3 separate regions of the Homo sapiens genome follow, and regions 2 and 3 are each linked to region 1. Evidence: promoter capture Hi-C in 16 types of primary human blood cells and fetal thymus (Javierre and others, 2016). All regions are on one chromosome and are shown on one strand. The core of a region is centred on a gene start or on the middle of the fragment in contact, and the rest is flanking DNA. Distances in the headings are between cores, read along the strand shown.

Region 1 (3,428 bases), core at 626-3,125:
ATGGCACAGTGCAAATTAGGTACAGTATTGGGCCGCTCTGTATCAAATCCCATTCTAGAATTTCTCTCTCCAAATTCCCCACATTGCTTTGGATGACAAGTGCAAAGGAAAGCATTAAGGAGATGAATCTGTGTTTTTCAGTATGTTTAGCTCTGGCAGGCAGTTACTAATGTTATATTGTTTTTTTGAATCACCAAGAAGGGAAAATAAATGACCCAGCTTATTTCTTTTTCCTCTAGAACTTATTGGATTGTAAACTTCTTCAGGGCAGGTACCATATTTTATAGGTCTTTATGACCCAGCCTGCACCTGGTGGCCTGGTAACTTAGATGTGCAGTAACTATATCCTGTTTGGTTAATATTTCTGAAAGAAATGTAAAAGGTAACCTACATCTTATGCGTAGTACTGGAACTGCATGTAAAAACTGGAATTGTGCTCTTCATTTTTCAGATGCTCATTTTATAAATATGTAATCATCTTTTTGATTCCTTTTAAGAGATAAAACAACTTAGAGGGTGTAATAAGTAGTATTAAATTATACAAGAAAACTTAATGGTAATTCAGTTATTTAGAATAAGTTCAAACTTTATCAATAATTTAAGAAATTAAATTTTCTTTAGCTGTTGTATTATAATTCCTGACAAGCATTTTTTAGTGACATGTTGGAATGTGGATAATTTTGGCTTATGTTTCAGTCTGAATTGGGAGTGTATGGTTTATAAGGTTTGTGGTATATACCCCAGCTTTAAAAATCTATAAATGAGAAATAAAAAAGCTTTTCATTTCTATTACACATTTGAGAGCAACTTAAAAAAAAAAAGGAGGAAACACCCTAGCAAACCATGTATTCTTATTAGTGTTAGTCAATTGACAGAAATTGCAACCCCCCTCCATGCCCATTTATCTTTGAGGTTTTGTTTTTTGAGACGGAGTCTCGCTCTGTCACCCAGGCTGGAGTGCAGTGGCACGATCTCAGCTCACTGCAAGCTCCGCCTCTGAGTTCACGTCATTCTCCTGCCTCAGCCTCCCAAGTAGCTGGGACTACAGGTGCCCGCCACCACGCCCAGCTAATTTTTTGTATTTTTTTTAGTAGAGACGGGGTTTCACTGTGTTAGCCAGGATGGTCTCGATCTCCTGACCTTGTGATCCACCCGCCTCAGCCTCCCTGCTGGGATTACAGGCGTGAGCCACTGCGCCTGGTTTTAAGGTGTGGTTTTGTAGTCAGTGTTGTTGTTATCATTTAGTAATCATCCAATTGGAATTATGCTCATCTTTCTTGTTAAGATTTCATTTTTGAATTCTTTGCTCCATAAATAATTCAGAAACTGCTTCAGCAGCTGGCTGTCCCATCATAGTTCTGGGGACTGAGGGAAAGGAAGGAGAGTGAGGCTGGATTTTTGACTCATTCCCAGCCTAGGTACTCACCAACCCTTATAAGTCACTTCTGTGCTGTTCAATTTCCTGTTCTCTAAGATGGGGATAATAGCGAGTTTTTAGGGTTGCTGGGTATACTAGTAATCGCAAAGTGTCCAGTAAGGTGTAGTAGTAGTGATAAGGTGGGCTGTATCATATGGGTACCTAGGGACCCATTTAGCAATCTTGGGTTCTGTCTCAGTTAAAGGCCCATTTGGTCTAAAGGAACAGATCCCTATACAATATCTACTGTAATCCTGAAAGGAGGAATTGTAAAGATACACAAGAGTAGCACCTCTAATCAAGCTGGCCGTCACAAAGGACTGGAACCAGGAACTAAAAGCTGACAGCTTTTCTCAGTCTCTTTCCCTCTCAGGCCATCCAGTGTCTCTTTGCTTCTCACTAGGCATAGCTCCACTGTTGATTCTCTGCATTGTGTGGCTTCCTCTGCTTTGATCTTCACACAGCCAAGCCTAGAACCTCATAATTCCAGATAGACATACATGTCCTTGGTCCGTGCAAGAGTAGAGCCTGATTTTCATATCTGAATTCCAATTCTAGAATTCTGGGAAAATGGAGATTTGATTGGCTCTGCTTGGGTTTATATTCTGCCTTGTGTTTAGCTGCGGCTAGGGCTGGCTTACAAGGAACAGTGAAGACTGGTGGGCCTACCTCTATGGCATAGGCATTCTCAGAGAAGAGACAGTGTGCAGGAGGCAGATACACCCACAGGTGTCTACCTTGTTTACATGTGGGGATCTTTGGAGATTTCTTGATGACAGTCTTGGTGCTGAAAGACTGAGTCTAAAATAGTTTGCCTAGTTTTAGTAGTTTTGTTTCCAGGTTGCACATTAGAGTTACCTGGGGACCTTTAAAATTATCCATGGCAGGCTCCATCTTTGGGTATTGATTCATTTGGGCTGGGATATTACATAGGCATCCGTATTGGGAAAAGAAAACAAGCTTTCAGGTGATTCTCATATGTAGTCAGGTTGATAACCACTGCCTAAAATGTTCCCTGCACCATGGTAGGGCTGGGGATTCAAAGTTGAGGGGAACATAGTACCTGCGACATACAAACAGAAAAGGAGGTATAAACACAAACTGCAAGACAAACCATTATCGGTGACCCAAGGGAATTGTAAACAAAAGGGCTGTGGGAAGAAGGAAATGAGATCATTTCTCCATAATAATGAAGGTTGATCCACCCTTACTCTAAATTTTTATCTGCAGTACCTACTTAATCTGTTTACCTCACATCTGATTCGTCCATCTGACTGTGAGTCTCCTGAGGCCCTGGCAACATGCTGGCTCTGGGGATGGCATTAGGAAACTGCCACTGCATAGATTTTTCAACCCCCATATTTGAGCCCCAAAGAAATATGACAGCATGTGAAAGGCCCCAGAGGGCAGCCCAACATAACTGACACCCAGCAAAACAGAGCTGCTGGTAAATTGACCATGACAAAAATCAAGCCCACAGGAGAGGCAGTACACATTTAAAATGGATTTAGATGGATTACAGACTGGTTATGGGGCCCTAGAGGAGGAGAAGACTATTGGGAGTATCCTTGAGAATGAGTGAGCTGAACCCAGGTGATGCCTATATGGATCTTACTGTGAAGGAAGCAGAATAACATTGGTCAAAGTTTCTGAACCTCAGGTGTAGTATTTTGTGTACCATGGTCTTTTCTATAAGTCTTCTACCAAGCCTATGGGGAAGATGCTTGTTTGCCTCATAGTACAGTTAAGAAATTCAGGCTCAGAGAGTTTAAGTGCTCAAGATCACACAGATGATTGGTATCAGAGCTGGATTCTGATCCAGGTGAGTCTTATCCCAGAGCCGAGGCTGTTCACCTCTGCTCAGTACTGCTCTATTGTGCCACAGTGCAAGGCAGGATGTAAAAGTGCTAGGAAGGCACGCTTGATGTGGGCAAGCTTAGAGAACCTTCCTGAATCAGGCAGCATTTGAAAGGTGAGCCAGGTATTGAGAGGGAGAGGACTGCGGTAGTGT
Region 2 (3,428 bases), core at 648-3,147, 270 kb before region 1:
TATCAAAAGGAGAATGACCAAACAAATTATGGTATACTCAAACAGGAACTACTACTCAACAATAAAAAATGAACTACCAATACAGACAAGAATATGAATGAATCTCAAAAGCATTATACTTCTAAGATGTCAGAAGAAATAAGGTTTCCATTTTTATAATATCCAATTACAAGATAGTGAATTCATGATGCCAGATGTCAGAAAAAGACTATCTGTGGGCACAGAAGGAACAGAGCAGGAGAAAACTTTCTTGGGTGATGAAAACATTCTATATAACATTTAGAATGGGGGTTACTTAAACGTACACAACTATCAAAACCTATCATGCTAAACACTTAAGAGCTGTGCATTTTAATGTACATTAATTGTGCTGCAATTTAAAAAGACAAGTCCATTCAGTTTATTTATTCAATAAACATTTGTTGAGTCTCTATCTACTCTGTGGCAGACACTGTACTAGTCCCAAGAATTCAAAGATGAAAAAACCATGGTACTGACCTCAAATAAGTTTAGTCCCAGTGAAGCTTGGTTTACTTGAGGAGACAAACATATAAACAATTATAGCACAATGAGCTAGAGACAGAATGTTAAAGGACCTCAGAAGAAGGGTACCTACTTTCTATCAGGGAAGACTTCTTATAACAGATGACAGTTATGTTTTAAAATGATGGACAATAATTAACTAACTTAAATGGAGAAAAAAATCCAAGCAGAAAGGACAAGATCAGAAATGGTACAGTGGCAGGACATAAAATACCATGTACATAAGAGACCCACAAGCAAGTTGGTCTTGTTAGAGCATAAACTGCTGGAGAGGTAGGAGCAAAAATGGATGCCACAAAGAAACAAGAGGCTATGCATACCTTTGTAAGACAGACTTCATCCTGTAGGTGACAAAAGATCTAAAGATTAGACAACCTTTATAGATAACTCATTCTAACACCTATAGAAAAGACAGATTTGAGACAGTAAGCAAGAAGACCAATCAGGAGGCTACTCTCAAGAATAAAGGCCTGAAGTAGAAAAATATTTAGAAGGTAAAATTGGCAGGTCTGATTCTTAATTTAGATATGAGTGAATAGGAAAAAGAAAAAAATGACTCATGAATGGTGAGATGAGTGTACCACCTCTAAAACAAGAGTGTAAAGAGAAGAAGAACTTGGGAGATGGAGGGGAAGAGAAGTACAGTGAAAGGCATGAGGAGTTCGAGGTGCCCCTGGGATACCTAGTTCGAATTGTGCAGAGTATTTCATATATAAGGCTGTATTTTGAAGTTCAGGCCCAGAAAGATTTAGGAATCATCAGTATATAGAAATTAGTTTAAATCGGCCAGTGTGGCGGCTCACACCTGTAATCCCAACACTTTGGGAGGCCGAGGCAGGTGGATCACCTGAAGTCAGGAGTTCAAGATTAGCCTGGCCAACATGGTGAAACTCCATCTCTACTAAACATACAAAAATTAGCTGGGCATGGTGGCAGGAGCCTGTAATCCCAGCTACTCAGGAGGCTGAGGCAAGAGAATCACTTGAATCCAGGAGGCAAAGGTTGCAGTGAGCTGGGATAGCCTCCAGCCTGGGCAACAGAGTGAGACTCCATCTCAAAAAAAAAAAAAAAAATGAAATTAGTTTAAATCATGAAAGCAAATGAGACTGGGTCAAGTACAATGGCTCACACCTGTAATCCGAGCACTTTGGGAGGCTGAGGCAGGAGAAGCCCTTTGAGGCCAGGAGTTTCAGACCAGCCTGGACAACATAGCAAGAGCCCATCTCTACTAAAATAAAAAATTGGCCATGTGGGGTGGTGTGTGCCTGTAGTCCTAGCTACTTGGGAGGCTGAGGTGGGTTTATCACTTGACCCAAGGAGATTGAGGCTGCAGTGAGCTATGATTATGCCACTGTACTCCAGCCTGGGCAGCAGAATAAGACCTGGACTCAAAAAAAAAAAAAAAGAGAGAGAGAGACTGATCAGTTAAAGTCAGAAGAACAAGAAAGTGGACCAAAGATAGAACTTTGTTAGTACCAATAAGGAAACTAAGAAAAGCCAGGGAAAGGTATGATAAGAATATCATAAAAAGACAACGAATGATGAGAAAGGAATGAAGAGAACAAGAACAAGATGAGGAGAACAGTGTTAGGGGAGACAAGGAATAGTGAATTTTAAGACACTATGTCTTAACAGTGAATTCCAAGATAGACATAAACCGTCCAAAGTAACAGAGCCAGTAAGGAAAAATTTGAAAGATATCTCACAACTGGAAGGTCACTGGTACTTTAGCAAAAGCATTTCAGCAGTGTGGAAGAAGCACAAGCCAGACTGTAGCAGACAGCCCAAAGAAACAGTAGCTATAAGTAAGACTAATGCAAACAAATGTGCACATGAACACAGTCATACATGTGCTAAACATTACAACAACAAGAAAAGGCATTCGTAAAATATTTTCTTAAAAAAGGAAACTCAGATTTTGGAGAAAAAAGTCTTGCTTAATAAATATCTACTTGGTAAATGAATGTTTTAAATACAGCTTCATTCACATACTGCTTTGGAAATAGCACTAAGAATGGAATTAGTAGTTGACCATATCAGCTCAACTGATCATGGGAAAGGTAAGAGCAAGTATCACCATCTTTCAATAATCACTGTTTTGTAAATCTGTTCTTAAAACTTCCTTAGTTAAAAAAAAAATCTCATTAGAAATTTAGACTAAGAACTATATTATGAGTACTTCCACATCTTCCTCTAAAAATCTTTACACTTTACACTTAGAGAAACCTTAATTATTGAAAAGAGTCAGTGAAATCATAAAGTGGATCATTTTTGCCATGATTTGATATTGTACCATGTTAAATCTAAAATCAATACCTTATCAACTTCCAAAACACAATTTTTGAGCCATCCAACAAAGTTATTAATTCTTAAGCAAAGGGTATTTTAAAATGTCCAACATTAACACTAATAAACATTATTAACTGATTCTATTTTTAAATAGGGGAAGGAGACAAGTCAAGGACACTGACGGCCAACCAGAGTTCTCCCTTTCTTCACTTTTCCTTAAGAAAAAGATATATTGATGAAGTTTGTCTCTAAAGAATGTTTTTCCGTAAATTGTCTTTGCTTGAGCCTTGATCTCTTCACCTATCCTTGAAATAAAGGCCAGAACTATCTTTGTAAACTTGGCAAATCTGATCTTTTCATGGCTCTTATTTAAAACTCAATAAATCTCTGGACATGGTAGTTCCCGGAAGATCCATCAAGGCATCTGTACAAAGCTTGCCCATTTGAGAAAAGAAAGCAATTTTATTTGCATACATCTTACAATTTGATATTAATCATGTTTTACAGAAAAATTAATGTACTCTTCAAAATTCTCATATTCTTTAAGTGTGTGAATGAGTTATAAAGATTGCATTGGTCTGTTTAGTTAGCTAACA
Region 3 (3,428 bases), core at 569-3,068, 260 kb after region 1:
GAGTTAAGTGAACAGTGAAGTTTCATAATAACTTCAGGGAAGAATAAAAAAGAATAAAAAATAAATCCTTCTGAGGTGTGCCATGTTAAGTCTGCATAGTAGGACGGGGGAAAAAAACATCTGACAACCTGTATTTATAAAAGAAAATGTATAAAGAGAAGTAGATATGGTGTTAAACAAAGTTGATGTAAAAAATGATTTTTTTCCTTATAGAATAATGGATAAAATTATATGTGAAAAATAGAACCATAATGAGATTTTGAGAGATTACATCTTCCTGGGGACCTTTCTGACTTTATACTCCTTAAGACAGGCAGAAAGAATTCAACGATAAGGGCTACAGGGGCAGCTGCTATGGCTCCTGTGCCCCTCACAGCACTGAATGGGGCCCAGTCAATACTTGTTAGTTCATTGATTTTTCTAAAGGTCTTTTTACGTTGTTCCCTCTCTAACAACATATATTGCCAACAAACAAAATTTTGAAATAAAATTACCCTTAGGGTTCTGGATATTGCTTCTTGATTTTTACCAGTCACTGCTTTTAACATCTCTTCATTCTGACATATGACATCTGTGTGTGGGGGGGTTACAGGAGTACTGCTCCCTGCCTTCAGGAAAAACAGGAGTGAAATCAATGTATTTTTCCTTTTTTGGATTGATCTTCAGATTACATCTCATTATTGTCAGATTTGGGTTTCGTGAATTTATATTGCCAAGACTTTGTAACAATAGATTTAAAGGATAACTGTAAAAATGAAATTCTAATTTCTTCTAGCATTCTAATTATTAACTAGCTTACATTTTATGTTTATTGTTCATTTACCCTTTCCTTTTTCTCATTTTTAAAAATGACTTTCTGTTGCCATTCAGAGTATTATTTGAGCACCATAGTTCATTTCTGCCTTCCACTTAGTCTTAGACAAGTCAGAAGTTTAGTTTTCTTAGCAGGAAAACAGAATGCAAATCCCCAGTGTTGATAGAATATGAGAAGTGGTGAGGATGCGGAAACATTGGTCGGGCTTTTTACATATACATATATTTTCCCCCTTCTTAACCCTTTTTATTTGATTCCACCTGAAGAAATAAAGTTTGATTCAAATAATGAGGAAAAGGGCTGGGCGCAGTGGCTCATGCTTGTAATCCCAGCACTTTGGGAAGCCCAAGTGGGTGGATCACTTGAGGTCAGAAGTTAGAGACCAGCCTGAACAACATGGTGAAACACTGTCTCTACTAAAAATACAAAAAATTAGCCGGGCGTGGTGGCTCATGGCTGTAATCCCAGCCACTCAAGAGGCCGAGGCAGGAGAATTGCTTGAACCCAGGAGGTAGAGGTTGCAGTGAGCTGAGATTGTGCCACTGCACTCCAGCCTGGGTGACAGAGTGAGACTCTGCCTCAAAAAAAGAAAAGTAACCCTTCTGTTATTATCATAGATTCCATGATTTAGATCTTGGAACATTAACCTTAAATGATATTTTGTTGTTAAATAAAAAGGGCAACCATTTGGCCTAGGGGTCATCATATGACTAAATAGTGAACTAAAGACAGGCACCTTCTCCAGGTGACCTTTCAAGTTCTTTTCCCACTCAATAATTTTATTTATTAAAACACATTTACTCAATAATAGTCAAATACTGATTTATCTAAACTTGGAAGAAAGAACAATAGGAAAAGGACATCTAATTTTTTTTTTAAGTGTTGTTCAAAGCTTTGTTTTTAGGTTACATTTCCTGACTTTGCCTTGTCAGGGATTTTCATGAACTTGTAGCACTTTGTTCTGCATTACATCATAGACTTACTCTATCTTTTCAAGGTACCTGTCCCTAGTGCCAGATACACTCATTATTCATACAAATCTAGGTTATATTTTTCTAGGAGAATTAATTACTCTATGCTGGCTACATATGGTTAGCTTGTCAGCAGGAAAGCTTTAACATATTTTGGGGTGGTATAATGTAGGCATTTAAGCAGTCTCTTTTTTCTTCTGTGCATGAATGTAGTAGTACATTAATATATGTTAGAATTAATATATTTCGTAATACAAATGTTTTGCATAGAATACTGGAGAATTTCTTCTCATATGTATTGCAAGTACCTGGCTTCATAATCATGAATAATGGCACTTACTGAAAACAGCGATGCTATGAGCCCATTATACACCTTCAGAATGGCCATAACTACAGGTACTACATGTGAGTGCTCTTTTGTATGTCTGACTGCTCTAAAGGACATATTAAGTGTAATAGAGCATTATTCATGTTACCAGTGTCATATGAACATCTTCCTTTTGCAATGGTTAAGGATAAAAAAAATCCAGGTAAGTGAACCCATCTGTCTTAAAATATAATATATTTTAAGACAAATGTCTTTGTGATAAGTGATCACTGCTTAAAAAGAACAATTCATGCCCAATAAGAATCAACATTATAATAGTACATCTTTGTCTCTTTATAATTTCATATCGCTTAAACTTACTCTATAAACTTAATGATATTTCTTCTTCTTCTTTTTTTTTTTTTTTTTTTGGTCCTTGTTGAACTTACATTCTTTGTTTTTCCTAGACAGTGGAATATGAAGACGTTCCTTAAAGTGCCTTGTAAAGTAGACTTCTTATTAATAACTACATTAATTGAGCCCTTAGAATCTTGATTGTATATGAATAACCATTTAATTTGGCAAGGGTCTGGGGAGAAAGCTAAGTATAAATTAGATATTTATATTATTTGAAAATGGAACTTTTCATTCACTATAGGGCTTTGGTCTATATGAAAATATTCTCTCAGAGTTGTGTACAAAGAACTAATTCTTTATTGCTCAATTTTTGTCAGATGAGTAAGCTGAGTTATGTTTAGTCATTAAGGCAGTGTCTATAATATATTGGAGTCTTATAAGCCTTTGTCTAGTATATTTTAAGTAACGGTCATTATTATATTATGAGCTGATAGCTTTCTGTATCCCAAACAATCATGATTTTCATTATATTTGGCATCCTACAGGCTTCATATAGCATTGTTTTTTAGCCTTTCCTTTACAGTCTGTGACTAAGGGAGAAACAGTCCCTATTTTAATCTGTCACTGCTTTTTTTCTGACCTTGCCTTAACCTGCTTTTGATATTTACAATAGTTGTTGAAGTTCAACAATTTTACTATTACCGCCCCTTCAGTGCGTTTTAAGTCCCAAATCCCTAGTGTGTTTGGTCAAGGAATTCATATCTAGCTTCATATGTGGTATGTCTTCAGCCTACAGCTAAGTGATTATTTCCTGCATGTGTGTTGATATAACACAGGAGTAAGGATAAAGGCAGGAACTTGCCCCTTTGTTCTTTTAGACACCTCCAGTCCCCCACATTCCCAGTAGAGAAACCTAGAGTCCCAGACAGGGTTAACTTGGCATGTGATAGATTTGTGGGTTTGCACCGCTTCTGCCTGC

The links. The method cuts DNA at HindIII sites, captures the fragments that hold promoters and counts their contacts. A CHiCAGO score of 5 or more calls a contact.
Region 2: a contact is called between a fragment that was not itself captured here and the fragment with the promoter of DIAPH3-AS2 in region 1, in 1 of 17 cell types (activated CD4 T cells). The highest score is 5.1, in activated CD4 T cells.
Region 3: a contact is called between a fragment that was not itself captured here and the fragment with the promoter of DIAPH3-AS2 in region 1, in 1 of 17 cell types (M0 macrophages). The highest score is 5.6, in M0 macrophages.

Annotation. Positions count from the first base shown.
Region 1 is chr13:60,143,145-60,146,572 of GRCh38, reverse strand. It overlaps DIAPH3-AS2 (DIAPH3 antisense RNA 2), which reads right to left and starts at 1,875. Exons shown (of 3, transcript NR_046540.1): 1 at 1,710-1,875. The region is part of intron 1 of DIAPH3 (diaphanous related formin 3); the gene reads left to right. The HindIII fragment of the contact is 1,601 bases long and covers 779-2,379 here.
Region 2 is chr13:60,415,540-60,418,967 of GRCh38, reverse strand. The region is part of intron 1 of TDRD3 (tudor domain containing 3); the gene reads right to left. Among named protein-coding and RNA genes, the nearest start is that of TDRD3, 20 kb to the right of the region's middle. The HindIII fragment of the contact is 2,742 bases long and covers 527-3,268 here.
Region 3 is chr13:59,880,074-59,883,501 of GRCh38, reverse strand. All of the region lies in intron 20 of DIAPH3 (diaphanous related formin 3), which reads left to right. Among named protein-coding and RNA genes, the nearest start is that of DIAPH3-AS1, 130 kb to the left of the region's middle. The HindIII fragment of the contact is 220 bases long and covers 1,709-1,928 here.